Linked DNA regions of Homo sapiens: regions 1 and 3 are each linked to region 2. Evidence: promoter capture Hi-C in human tissues and cell types (Jung and others, 2019). All regions are on one chromosome and are shown on one strand. Each heading gives the region's core, a stretch centred on a gene start or on the middle of the fragment in contact. The rest is flanking DNA. Distances are from core to core; before and after follow the strand shown. Region 1 holds the start of DECR2 (2,4-dienoyl-CoA reductase 2). Region 2 holds the start of MPG (N-methylpurine DNA glycosylase). Region 3 holds the start of AXIN1 (axin 1).

The links. Contacts are between HindIII fragments. The study calls those that stand out against the background at their distance.
Region 1: a contact is called between the fragment with the promoter of DECR2 here and the fragment with the promoter of MPG in region 2, in 1 of the 25 tissues and cell types used here (spleen).
Region 3: a contact is called between the fragment with the promoter of AXIN1 here and the fragment with the promoter of MPG in region 2, in 6 of the 25 tissues and cell types used here (H1 embryonic stem cells, bladder, dorsolateral prefrontal cortex and 3 more).

What each region holds. Positions count from the first base shown.
Region 1 is chr16:399,530-404,121 of GRCh38, reverse strand. DECR2 (2,4-dienoyl-CoA reductase 2) reads right to left here and starts at 2,237. Exons shown (of 9, transcript NM_020664.4): 1 at 2,079-2,237. The coding sequence starts at 2,158. NME4 (NME/NM23 nucleoside diphosphate kinase 4) reads right to left here. Exons shown (of 5, transcript NM_005009.3): 4 at 4,383-4,495; 5 at 3,368-3,903. The coding sequence ends at 3,780. RefSeq lists enhancers at 2,672-3,257, 3,105-3,414, 4,428-4,592. The HindIII fragment of the contact is 11,138 bases long and covers 1-3,470 here.
Region 2 is chr16:76,823-81,041 of GRCh38, reverse strand. MPG (N-methylpurine DNA glycosylase) reads right to left here and starts at 2,817. Exons shown (of 4, transcript NM_001015052.3): 1 at 2,709-2,817; 2 at 1,342-1,617. The coding sequence starts at 2,732. RefSeq lists an enhancer at 2,738-3,032 and a silencer at 2,547-3,236. The HindIII fragment of the contact is 15,400 bases long and covers 1-4,219 here.
Region 3 is chr16:350,462-354,637 of GRCh38, reverse strand. It overlaps AXIN1 (axin 1), which reads left to right and starts at 1,915. Exons shown (of 11, transcript NM_003502.4): 1 at 1,915-2,269. RefSeq lists silencers at 1,247-1,506, 1,547-2,026, 2,127-2,206, 2,487-2,536, 2,557-2,626 and 1 more. The HindIII fragment of the contact is 14,202 bases long and covers 1-4,176 here.

The DNA of each region.
Region 1 (4,592 bases), core at 988-3,487, 320 kb before region 2:
GGCTCACTGCAAACTCCTCCTCCCAGGTTCACACCATTCTCCTGCCTCAGCCTCCAGAGTAGCTGGGACTACAGGCACCTGCCACCACGCCCAGCTAATTTTTTGTATTTTTAGTAGAGATGAGGTTTCACCGTGTTAGCCAGGATGGTCTCGATCTCCTGACCTTGTGATCCACCCACCTCGGCCTCCCAAAGTGCTGGGATTACAGGCATGAGCCACCACACCGGGCCTATTTATTTATTTTGAGACAGGTTCTTGCTACGTCATCCAGGTTGGAGTGCAGTGGCACCATCACGGCTCACTGCCGCCTTGACCTCTTGGGCTAGAAGGATCCTCCTGCTTCAGCCTCCCCAGTAGCTGGGACTACAGGTGCATGCCAGAGTGCCCAGCTAATTTTTCATCTAGTTTTTCTAGAGAGGGGTATCGTTTTGTTGCTCAGGCTGGTCCTGAACTTGTGCTGACACAAACTTGCAAAGTGCAGTGGGGGAAAGGGTATTTCTGTGTCTTTTGACAGAAATGGACAGAAGTAGATACAAGAGAGAAAAATACCCTGGCTTAAACAAGATAGAGGTTATAATTTCCTCTCTCCTAAGCCCTGCATGGCACTAATATCAAATATGATACCTGAGATTCAGCAAGCTACGTCGGGATAATATGGCTTTTTTATTTATTAGAGATTTTCTTGTACGCATTAAATGTGTACTGATCGGTATGACTGGCACAAACTGTACCAGATGGATGGCAAACTTTTGCTGATCTCCAAGTTGCCTTTCCTATTCTTAATTATTAAAGATTAATTTTGGGCCAGGTGCAGCGTCTCACTCCTGTCATCCCAGCACTTTGGGAGGCCGAGGCAGGTGGATCATCTGAGGTCAGGAGTTCCAGACCAGCCTGACCAACATGGTGACACTCACCTCTACTAGAAATACAATTAGCCCAGCGTGGTATTGTGTGCCTATAGTCCCACTTGGGCGCACTGAGGCTGAAGCAGGAGAATTGGGAGGCTGAGGCAGGAGAATTGCTTCAACCCAGAATGAGACTCCGTTTCGAAAAAAAACTTTTTTTTTTTCCTGCAGAACACTCAGAGAGAATTGTCAATACCTGTCCTTGGAGAACATAATTTAAAACTTGTTTTCTTTTTTTGAGATGGAGTTTCACTCTTGTTGCCCAGTGCAATGGTGCGATCTCGGCTCACTGCAACCTCCACCTCCCGAGTTCAAGTGATTCTCCTGCCTCAGCCTCCCAAGTAGTTGGGATTACAGGTGTGCGCCACCACACCCGGCTAATTTTTTGTATTTTTAGCAGAGACGGGGTTTCACCATGTTGGCCAGGCTGGTCTCGAACTCCTGACCTCTGGTGATCTACCCGCTTCGGCCTCCCAAAGAGCTGGGATTACAGGCGTGAGCCACTGCTCCTGGCAAAAGATCAAAATTTTAATAGAAACTTGAAAATGTTGCCAATTGAAAAAAAGAAAAGGAAAAAAAAAAAAGGATCCGCCCATTAGCCGAGTGAGGGCAGGTGACCGGGGAGGATCGACCTTTGCCCGGGCTGCCTTCTCTTGTGAACACCAAGGCGTTTGCAGGAAAATGAAGAGCTGCTGGGCAAAACCTGGCATTCCTGGGCCTTCTGGGTCTTCCGGAAAAATGATTTCAACCTAAAATTTTCTGTTAAGAAAGAGGCCAGGTTGGGCCGGGCGCGGTGGCTCACGCCTGTAAATCCCAGCACTTTGGGAAGCCGAGGCGGGTGGATCACCTGAGGTCAGGAGTTCGAAAAGAGCCTGACCAACACGGTGACACCCCCTCTCTACTAAAAATAAAAATTAGCCGGGCTGAGGCAGGAGAATCGCTTGAACCCGGGAGGCAGAGTTTGCAGTGAGCGGAGATCGTGCCACTGCACTCCAGCCTGGGCGACACAGCGAGATTCCGTCTCAAAAAAAAAAAAAGAAAGAAAAAAGAAAGAAAGGAGCCAGGCAAGACAGGTTTCCTAACACGCGAGCCCTCGGGGACCACGTGGGGGCGCCGGCGCCCGCGGACCGGACCCCGCACCAAGGCTGCGCTCGCTTCCCAGGCCCCGCTCACCGCAGCAGGTCCGGGCAGAAGAGGTGGCGGTACGCGGGGAGACAGTCGTCCCCCTCCACGTCGGGCGGCGGCTGGGCCATGGCGCTCCCGTCGGGGACTGCGGGGACAACGGGCGGGAGCGGCCTCGGCCTCCAGGACCCGGCGCGCAGCTGCGAACTCGCCTGGAACCGGGAGCCCCGCCCCACTCCCCGGACGCCCCGCCCCTGCCCTGATTGCTTCCCGGAGGCCCCGCCCCTCCCCCGAATTCTCCCCGGAGGCCCCGCCCCCGCCCGCGGCCTGCTGGGACTGGAAGTCGGCGCGCGAGGCGCAGGCGCATTGCGGGGCCGGGGGCGCGGTTCCCGCGGCAGAAGCTCGGCGGTCTGCGGGTCTCCTCCCCGAGTCTTTTTCACAGGTATTCGGCGTCAGCGCCGCGTTCAGAGCCTCCAGGACTTGTGGGATACCCCTGGCTCCTGGGTCCAGGCCAGGCTCGCAGCCTCTGGGCTCCCCGTTCGCCTCCCCGTAAACACCATGGGGAGGGCCGGGGCCCAGGGAAGCGCGGCCAGCCCCGCGCCGCTTCCCAAAATGACCCGTTTTGAGGCCAATAAAGAAGGGTCCGGGGCCGGGCGCGGTGGCTCACGCCTGTAATCCCAACACTTTGGGAGGCCGAGGCGGGCGGATCACGAGGTCAGGAGTTCGAGACCATCCTGGACAACATGGCGAAACCCCCTCTTTACTAAAAATACAAAAATTAGCCGGGCATTGTGGCGGGTGCCTGTAGTTCCATCTACTCGGGAGGCTGAGGCAGGAGAATCGCTTGAACCCGGGAGGCGGAGGTTGCAGTGAGCCGAGATCGCGCCACTGCACTCTATCCTGGGCGACAGAGCGACACTCCGTTTCAAAAACAAAAACAAAAAAAAAAGGGTCCGTTACTTCTGTTCCGCGTGGGGGCCCGGGCGGGGCTATGCCGCGAACCCAGGACGGGGCGCCCCGCCCGCACCACTGTTGGAAGACGGGGGTCCGCGACGGCCACGGGGGAAAAACACGCAGGGCCGCTCCTGAGCTGAACACACCCGCGGGCCAGCGGCTTCAGGGGCGTGACAGAGCCGCCAGCGCTACAGTAATGGCTGCCAGGCCCTTTCTGCGCTGGTTGGCCTCAGCCCGCCGGCCCCTCTCTGCCCCTTCCCCGGGAAGGCAGCTTCTCCTTTGGCGGGATCACAGCACCGGCTCGCGCCTAGCTTGGGTTCTCCGGATTGCAGGCTGGTGGTCTCTGGACCCCTGCCTGGCTCATACATCCAACAACGTTATGGAACTGGGTGTGCAAAACTTCCTCTTTACTGTTCAACTCCTTACAACTTGCATAAAGGCGTCATTTCTACCTCAGAGCTGGGGGAAGTCATAATTAGTGTACCACCCATGTGCTGGGCACAGTGAATTTTAATGCCTCCCCTTTAGAGGAGAGGTTATGATAATGTGAAGACCCCCCCCCACCACAAAGGTTGTCCGGCACTTTGGTGCAAAAAGGATTGGTCCAATCTTGTGCTGGCTTGGGGTACAGAAAGGCACTGAAGTTGGTGGCTCAAACTCCTCTGGGCTGGGGTGGGGCAGAGGTGAACAGGGAAGTAAGTGGTTTGGGACAGGCAGGTTTGGATGTGGGCTTGGGTTCTTGCTGACGGAGGTAGTTGGTCCTGCGTGGGGGATGGGGTGGTAAGGGCAGCTTGAGCCTCAGGCTGGGTGGATGCTGCTGTGCTGGCCCCCGTCTGCCCAGCTCACCAGCTCACTGCTCTGGAACCACAGCTGGATCTCCCGCTGGGCCCCCTCCACGGAGTCGCTGGCGTGGATGACATTCCTGTGCCAGGACAGGAGCAATGTGAGGCTCAGGCTTCATGTGCACCCTGAGGAATCCCAGGGACCATCTGCTGCTCCCGTTGCCCTCTGTCTAGGGGAGCAAGCCTGTGACTGCAGACAGGGAAGGAGTAACAGTGGAGCTGGGAAACCGGGTTCCAGCCTGGCCTCGGCCTCTTACAGCCTCGTGGACCCGCCCAGGCCCCAGCTTTTGGGAGCCTCATTTCCCCCCAAGTTGCCCCGTGCCAACCCCTTGGGGTGTCAGGTAACAGGCAACGATGGCACGGTACACACAACACAAAGGGAACACCTCATTGCCCTGTGTGCCCTGGGAGAACACGGCTCTCACCAGTGTGAGCTGTCATGTCCGACCTGGCTTCATCCTAGCACAGCAAGACAGCCAGGTCTCGTGGATCTGCCACCACCCCAAGTGATGGCCCTCCTTGCCCCCAGCAGCAGCCTGGTGTATCAGGACCCCCGTACCTGCTGATGTGGACGCTGAAGTCACCCCTTATGGTTCCTGGGGCAGCCTCAGCCGAGTCGGTGTGTCCAATCATGGCCCTCGAGGCGCGGACGACATTGTACCCTTCCCAGACCTGCAGCGAGAGATAATGGTTGGGGAGAAGTGGGGAACACCAAGGGCCCCTGGGCTCAATCCAGGGCCCCTCCCTTTGCTGGGGGGAAAGACACACC
Region 2 (4,219 bases), core at 1,568-4,067:
TGTCCCTGATCCAAGGGACACAGGGTGAGACACCCTCTTCTCTGCTGGACATCATCTTGTCCACCAATGGGCTCAAGTGGGCATGACTGTGGCCTGACAAGGATGCTGAATAGAGACAAACGTATTGTGGTCCCTGATGCCATGCTGCGCCCTTGCCCTGTTCCTACGACGCACCTGCCACACGTGCTGTTTTGTTGTATCACAAATGCCCATTGTATTTTTTTTTTATTTTTGAGACGGAGTCTCGCCCTGTCGCCCAGGCCGGAGTGCAATGGCGTGATCTCAGCTCTCTGCAACCTCTGCCTCCCGGGTTCAAGTGATTCTCCTGCCTCAGCCTCCCAAGTAGCTGAGATTAGAGGCGCCCGTCATCACACCCAGCTAATTTTTGTATTTTTAGTAGAGATGGGGTTTCACCATGTTGGTCAGGCTGGTCTCAAACTCCTGACCTCGTGATCCACCCACCTCCGCCTCCCAAAGTGCTGGGATTACCGGCATGAGCCACCACACCTGGCCACAAATGCCCATTACTTAAGGTGCTTTTAGAAGGATCCGCATGGGGACAGAATGTTCTCTGTTCTCCATGAGGTCGAGCCCACATTCTAGGGTCTGCTCCTTTAGCACCCAACTCCTGGCACTGGTATTTCTCTTCTGGTTCTTCTTGGTGATTATAACCTAAAAGTAGGCTCATTAAAGGACAAAGGGAAGGCCTTGGAGCCTCTGGAGAACCAGAAAGGCAGGCCTGGGGCTTTGGCATCGAGGACCACCGCCACCACCTCGCTCCCAACAGATCCAGCCAAGATGCCACGGCTGTGTGAGCATCTGCTCGTGGGGACAGGCTGCACCGTAGGCCCCACCAGGATGGGACCTGGGCAGTCCCTGCTTCTTACTCCAAGTCTGATTGGCAGAGCCCAGATCCTTGACCTACATTAAGCTGCAGGGGCCCTGGGAAGCCAGCACTGCACTGTGAGCCACTACAGCGGGAAGGGGCAGCCCGACACTGGCCACAGCCACAGTTCCCACGTGTGGAAAAACTGAGGTGGATTGCCGGTGAGGAAGGCTAACGGTGCAAGTGCTCCTGCCCTAGATGCCCAGAGCCGGGGGCAGACAGTGGCACCCCTGCTCCACCCTGGGCAAGCAGCACTGACAATCTCTACATTCTTCCCAGATGACCTCAGGCAACTGAGATGAAGCTAAGCAGGGACCAGTGTGAGCAAAGCCGCTAAATGCATGAGGACAAGGAGGACTAACTGAGGGCCAATCCAGCAGGCAGCGGACAGGGGTTCAGGGACAACTGCAGTGACAGGCACTTCAGGAGGGCCCTCGCTGCTATGTTCACATTACCTGTCCCAGAAATGCCCGGGCCAGGGGGACTGCCGGCTGGTCGAAGAACTCCAACCCCAGTCGGGTAAGGTGGCCCTTTGGGCTTGAGAAATAGATGCTGCGGTATGGGCCCGGAGTGGTGGGCGGTCCCAAGCAGCGCTCCCTGGGGCAAGGTGCCTGGGCTGCATCGGACGAGCTGTGTGGCTGCTCTGCAGGTGCCTGGGCTGCGTCGGACGAGCTGTGTGGCTGCCCTGCTCTAGCTGGTCGCTGCTTCTTTTGCCCCATCCGTCGGCAAAACTGTAATGGGAAAAAAAATAAATAAGCATCCGAATAGGAGACAGCTGTGTGGTAAGGTCAGGCTCAGGAAGTGCAAGGACTGGATCTGACCACCTGCTTTGGTTTCTTCATCTGCAAAGCGGGGGTGACCATCCTGTGGGTTGTTATGAGGCACAAACACCCTGACACACTCGAGGCCTCAGGAAATGATCACGTCTGACGATGGACGGCTGCTGCTGGGGGCAGGGTGGCTGCTCTGCCCCACATATGTGCGAGCTGCACGGCATGGGGGCCCAGGCTGCATGACCTGGGGAGCAGATGGGGGCCTGAGCCTGGGACAGCAGGGCTGGTGCCCTCCGATTCCCACTCATCATGCAGGTCCCAAGCAAACGTCTGAGCTGGTTTCTGGAGCCCTGCCCTTTCATCCAACCCTTGCCAGAATTCAAAACACAGGATCTTAGCAGGGCCAAGGTCGGACACACAGGGAGGGGTGAGCACCGGGGTGACCACCGCGTGCTCAGGGTCCCTAACTGTCCTCTGCTTCATGGCCCAGGCTGGATAACGAGCAAGTGGGGCAAAGGCAAGGTCTCCTGAGGGACTAGGAGGGTCTGCTGAGACCGAGCAGGCCGCCAGCCTCCCACCTCTGGCCTCCCCATGGGTAGGGGGAACCTAACCACACATCCTCGGCTGTCCTGGGGCAAAGGAGAAGGGAAGATGAAGGTGGCGGGTGAGCGCCGGCCTGGCAGCACCCGGAGGGCTGGTCTTTAGCAGCACCTAAGTCCTCCTGGCATGGGAGAGATGCATTATTTTTAACGGGAGTGCTGACGTTAATGTAGAACGGAGACTGCCAGTCGGCCTGGAACGGACGCTGACGTGACCGTCTCCGCAGCTCGGCCCGCGCTGCCAGCGCGCCGTGGGTTCAGCCCCCGGGCGCTGCGGCCACTGCTCTCGGCCCGAGCTTGGCCCTTGGCCTATGCTCTGGCTCTGCCCCGAACCCTCGGGGCGGTGGGCGCTACGCCCGTCCCCGGCACTCCCGCTCCCGCGGCCGCGCTCGCTGCTGCGCCTGGGGGTGGGCGCGTCTGTTCCGCGGGGCGGCCGAGGCGCGCGCTCACCTGGGCCCCGCTGCGCGCGGGCATCCGGCGGCTCGGGCCGGGGCTTCGTGGGACTCGGACCCCGGCGCGGAGCCCAGCAGCCGCCGACCACGGAAGCACCCCTAGGACCGGGGCGGAGCGGCGCCTGCGCAGAAGGGGACGGAAGCCGGGAGAAGGGGGGCAGTGAGCGCCGGGAACTGGCTGCGCCCCCGGGGCGGGGCGGGCCACGTGGAGGTGGATCCTCTTCCCAGCGCCCACCGCCAGGTCCGGACCGATTCCCGGGCCCGATGCGGTGCCTGCGAGGCGAGAGCGGGGAAGGGGCACCTGGGGGTGGGGCGAGCCCCGCACTGTGCCCCGGCGCCCCTCCCAATGAGCTGTCCGCCCCCGCCTGCGCCCTGGTCGCCTGGCGGCCCCAGAGCCCACTCCACCAGCCGGTGGTCAGACCACCGAGAGGACGGGCCCGTCGTGAACCTGAGTGGATCCTCGAGGGGCCCGGGCGGAGTGGTCGTGCTTTGGGGGAGGGGGCGGGCCGCAGACGTGTTTTCCGGTGGGGTGCCAGCGGAGTGAGCGCCTGGGAGGCCGCCCCAGCCCTGGTCCGGAGTGGGCCGGGGAGTCCTTATCCAGGAAGTGGACGCCAGGCTTGTGCGGAGGCCCCCGCCCCTGGCCGGGGTTGTCACAGGCTGGTCGGGGGAAGGAAGGAGGGAGCGGCGCGGATTCTGCCTCTGCAGCAGAGCCCCCATCCCTCTTTCCGCCCAGGGATGCTGAAGGGAGCTCGCCCACGTTCTGGGTTGGGCCTGCTGGAGCGCAGGCAGCCTCCTCTAGAGGCCGAGGCCAGACCAGGGCTGAACACGGCCCGGCAGTGCGCAGCCGTCCTACGCTTCTGAGGCCTCCCCGACGGCCCAGCGCCTGTAAGCTCTCACAACCTCTCAAGTCAGATCCATGCCCCTAGGGAGGGGCAGGGACGGTGCTTGGCCCAGTGGACGGAAGGGCCTAGGGGACGGGCCCTGAGGGAGCTGGGCACACTGCTGGCTCCCACGGCCCATGGCAGCCCCAGCACCCAGCAGAGCCATCCCCCGCTTCTGGCCACTTGAAGGTTTATCTGGGTCTGCAGGGCCCCTCCACTGTGGCAGGCACAATCCCACCCCACAACCCACCTCTGCCGCACAAAAACCCTCGAGGGGCTTTTCCTGAGCTTTGACTTCTGTGACCCTGGTCCTGGAAAGGAGCACCTGAAAAGGCCTTGAAGAGCAACTGGGCACCTGGCCGCGTCAGGTGGGAGACGCTGGGCAGGACAGACGCACAGGCCATGTGTCTGGAGCCCTCAGATGAGTGTGACACCTGGTCCTACAGAAAGGCTAACAGGGCAGGACCTGGTCTCCAACTGCCTCTCCTCCTCTGACCAGCCGTCCCACCCCCATGGGCCCCAGCCAGGACTTCCTGGGGAGGGAGGGGCCATCAGCCGGCTGGAAGCCACCAGCTGTTTGTAGCACTGTGTGCCGCTTCCCGGGGTGGGGGCATAATGTGTCATCAAT
Region 3 (4,176 bases), core at 666-3,165, 270 kb before region 2:
CTGAGTGCTGGCAGGGGCGAGGGCTGGGAGGCTTCCACACATGGTTCCCCATGCAGTCCCACCTGTGGGCATCTGGTTGGGGGTAGGCTGGAAGCTCGGGGAGCCTGGAGCTGGGACTTCTGTGCTTGCCTGGGAGCTCTGAAGGGTGAGGCTGGGCATCCAGGGTGACACAGCCCAGGGAAAGACATGGGGGTGACGTGAGAGGTGCCTGGAGGGAGCTGGCAGGTATGGACATGATGGACACGGAAGCACGGAGGCGGGCAAGTGGCCAGACGCATCTAGGGGAAGGTGTGGGGGAGGCGCCCTTAGGAAGGGCCCTGAAGGGCTGTGGGCAGCAGGGAGCCCTGGGAGGCCTAAAGCAGAGGGCAGATAGATGAGGGCTGTTGTCTCAGGTGTGGGGCGGACGAGGTGGGGAGCCCTCACCCAACAGGAGGCGAGCTGGTCCTGTGTGGCCTGAACTGCAGCTGTCTCCTCTGTGAAACGGGGGTATAGCTGACCCCAGGGGGCTGCCTGGAGCATCCCGGGAGGTGCCAGGCCCAATAGTGCTCTGGGAAGGACAGGGCCCTGGGCTGTTGTGGGAGGCGGCAGATCCTGGTACTCACATCCTCCTCCTTGGGGAGGGCCTGATGGTTGGCTGAGGCCTGGGTGGAGAGCAGAGGGTTGGTTCTGACAGGGTTGGGCTGGCCAGAGCTGGTGCTGGGGCTGCTGCTGGGGGCCCGTGCCTCTCTGCCGTGGGGTGCCTGGGGCTGTGACCTCATGCTCTGTGGCCTGCAGGGCAAGTGACACGGATCTGGGCAGCCAGGGTGGCAGGATCGGACTGGACCCCTTGGCAGGGCCGCTGTGGAGACAGCCCAGGGGAAGGGGTGCAGGGGTCTGGACACTCCAATGGCCTTGCTCTCGGGCTGGCCTGGGCAGCGGAGGGAAGGAGAACCCTTCTCTGATACTAGATGGTGCCTGGGAGAAATCAAGGCAGAGGGTCCTAGCCGGTGGGCTCTTTGGAGGTTGTGGCTCCTGTCCGGGTGAGAGCCACCATATATTGGGGCCTAACGTGTTCCCTGGCGCTGTGAGTCCAGGCTGCCTTGGGACTCAGGAGGGTGGAGCCCACCCCACCTTCCAAGGGCCCTGGCCATCCCTGCCTGCCGACCACCCCACTCCTGGGAGCCTGCTTCCCTCACGGCGGCGGGCAGGCCGTGGCGGTCCCCACGAGGGCCTCCTCTCCAGGGCCGGCTGGGCAGGGAGCCCCGAGGCCTGCAGCCCCCTGACTGCCCTCCGATGTACTGGCGGCAGAAAAGGGCTGCGCCCCACGTGCGCCCTTCGGGGCGCGCAGTCCGCCCAGTGCTCCCCACGGCCGCGGCCATTCCAAGGACCTGCAACGCCGCCTCTCCCACTCCGCTCTCTGGGAAGCCAAAGCCTCCCGGGCTCCGCTTCCGCACCGCCCCTCGGGAAGACGGCGCGACCGCGCCCCCGGCACGCCCCGCCCCCGGCAGGCACTGACCACGCCCTCTCCCGGCCATGCAGAGACCCCGGCCCATGTTTCTCAACTCGTCTTCTCGCTTCCGGCCCCGCCCCGCGCCGGAGGCCCCGCCCCACGCTCTTTACCTCTTCTGCTCGAGGCGGGCCCCGCCTTACTCCCTGGTCCCCGCCCCACGCCCGAGGCCCCGCCCCGAGCTCTTCACCTCGTCTTCTCGCTTCCGGCCCCGCCCACGCCCCGGCCCCGCCCCGCGCTCCTCACCTGTCCCCTCGCTGTCGGCCCCGCCCCACGCTCCTCACTTTATCCTCGCGCTTTCAGCCCCGCCCCGCGCCTGAAGCCCCGCCCCACACCCTTTACCTCGTCCCCGCGCTGCCGGCCCCGCCCCGTGTTGAGGCCCCGCCCCGCGCTCTCACCTCGTCCCCGCGCCCCGGCCCCGCCCCCGCACTTCCGGACGCCGCCGGCGGGGGCGCTCGGGCCTGGGCTTCGGCGCTCTGGCTCGGGCTCTGGCTCGGGAGGCGATCGTGGCCGCTGCCGCCGCCAGAGCCGGCCGGAGTCGGCCCGGAGCCGCGTCCACGCGGAGCGGGCGGGTGGGAGCTGGCGGCTGGGCCCCTGCGGCGCCCCCGCGGCCTGCCCCGCGTCCGCCTCCGGGCCGCCGAGCCGCAGCCGCCGAGATGGGGGCCGCCCCGGGCCGCGCCCCCGCCGGGTCCCGCCCGCCGCGCTGCCGCTGAGCGCATGGGCCCGGACCGCGCCGCGCCGCTCCGGGAGCCGGGCCCGGGGTCCCGCCACCACCGCGCGCGGGTGAGTAGGGCCGGGCTCCGGGGCGGGCTAGGCCGCGGTAGGCCGGGCGGGCGGGACCCGGAAGCGGCGGGGGGCGCGGGTGGCTGACGCGCGTGGGACCGAGGGGGTGGGCGCGCGGGGAGCTGGGGCCGGGGTGTCCCTGGGCAGCGGGACTGGCGGCGCGGTGGCCGCTTGGAGGTCCGAGGCCTCGGGCGCGTCTCGGGGCACGGAGCAGCTGCAGGGGCCGCGCATCGCGTGCGGGGGCCCGGGAGAGCCGGGCCTGGAGCCCTCCCCGCCGCCCAGAAGTCGGCGGGAGTCCGGCTGTCCCGGAGGAGGACACTCCCGCCCGCCCTCGCCGAGGCCGCGTGCCGGGTCCGGGTCGGGGTTCGGCCTGAGTAGCCGCGTGCTCCGGCGTCCGTACCCTCCAGGTTGATGCCTTGCTGCCCAAACACTGGTCTTTCTCTTGGGTGTGGTTCTTAGATTCTACCCCCGCCCCGCACTTTGGAATTTAGCCCCCGTGAAACCAGAGCTGCACTGCCCGAGCAGTGAAACTTTCAGCTTGGCATTGAAGAAAGTAGAGAAAAACATGTCAGTTCTCTGGGGATTTTTCTCAGCCCATCTATAAGATATATATATATATATTTTTTGTAGAGATGGGGTGTCACTATATTGCCCAGCAGGTGTTGAATTCTTGGCCTCAAGCGATCCACCTGCCTCAGCCTTCCAAGGTGTTGGGACTACAGGGGTGACCACCGTCCTCTAAGATAATTTTTTTTTTTTGAGACGGAGTCTCGCACTGTAGCCCAGGCTGGAGTGCAGTGGCGCTATCTTGGCTCACTGCAACCTCCGCCTCCCGGGTTCAAGCAGTTTTCCTGCCTCAGCCGCCTGAGTAGCTGGGATAACAGGCATGCGCCACCACATCCGGCTAATTTTTGTATTTTTAGTAGAGACAGGGTTTCACCATGTTGACCAGGCTGGCCTGGAACTCCTGACCTCAGGTGATCTGCCCACTTTGGCCTACCAAAGTGTTGGGATTACAGGCGTGAGCCACCGCGCCTGGCCCCTTCTAAGATAATTTATAAAGGGTTCTTATGTGCATGTCAGCCCCTTGTTTTTGCTCACACTTCTGTTCTCTGCTTCTTCAGGAAGAATCTCGAGCTTACTTGGATCCACAGGCCCTATTTTGGAGAAAACACAGTCTAAACCGGCTACCCGAGATACTCAGCAATAGCTCGGTTTCAGTTTTTTTTTTTTTTTGAGACAGAGTTTTGCTCTTGTTGCCCAGGCTGGAGTCCAATGGCGTGATCTCCGCTCACCGCATCCTCCGCCTCCCAGGTTCAAGCGATTCTCCTGCCTCAGCCTTCCCAAGTAGCTGGGATTATAGGCATGCGCCACCAAGCCTGACTAATTTTGTATTTTTAGTAGAGATGGGGTTTCTGTATGTGGGTCAGGATGGTCTTGAACTCCCGACCTCAGGTGATCCGCCCACCTCGGCCTCCCAAAGTGCTGGGATTACAGGCGTGAGCCACCTCACCTGGCTTTGGTTTCAGTTTTAAGATCTCCATTCAGGGACAAGGATGGGAAAGCATGAAAAACAGACTGTTTTTGTTTGATTTTCAGCTGGTGTTGACTTGTCTTGGGTTTCTAGTTTCAGAAAAGCTAAGCAGACTTTTTCGGATTACATTGGTCATTGAGAATTTCAGTGATGGGGGAATAAATTACATGTGAAATAGTAGCCCTGAACCTTCAAGAGTTAAATCAATGGACAGCTGGGAAGATGTCAGAGTCGTGTTGTGTTACTTGCCTCCTCCATGTAAATCAAAATGTCAAAAGTTACGTTTGGGTAAAATAAATACCTACACACGTAGGTAGCATTGAGTTTGCTGCCATGATGCCTGGAGCATATGCCTAAGCGGTGACGAAAGGGA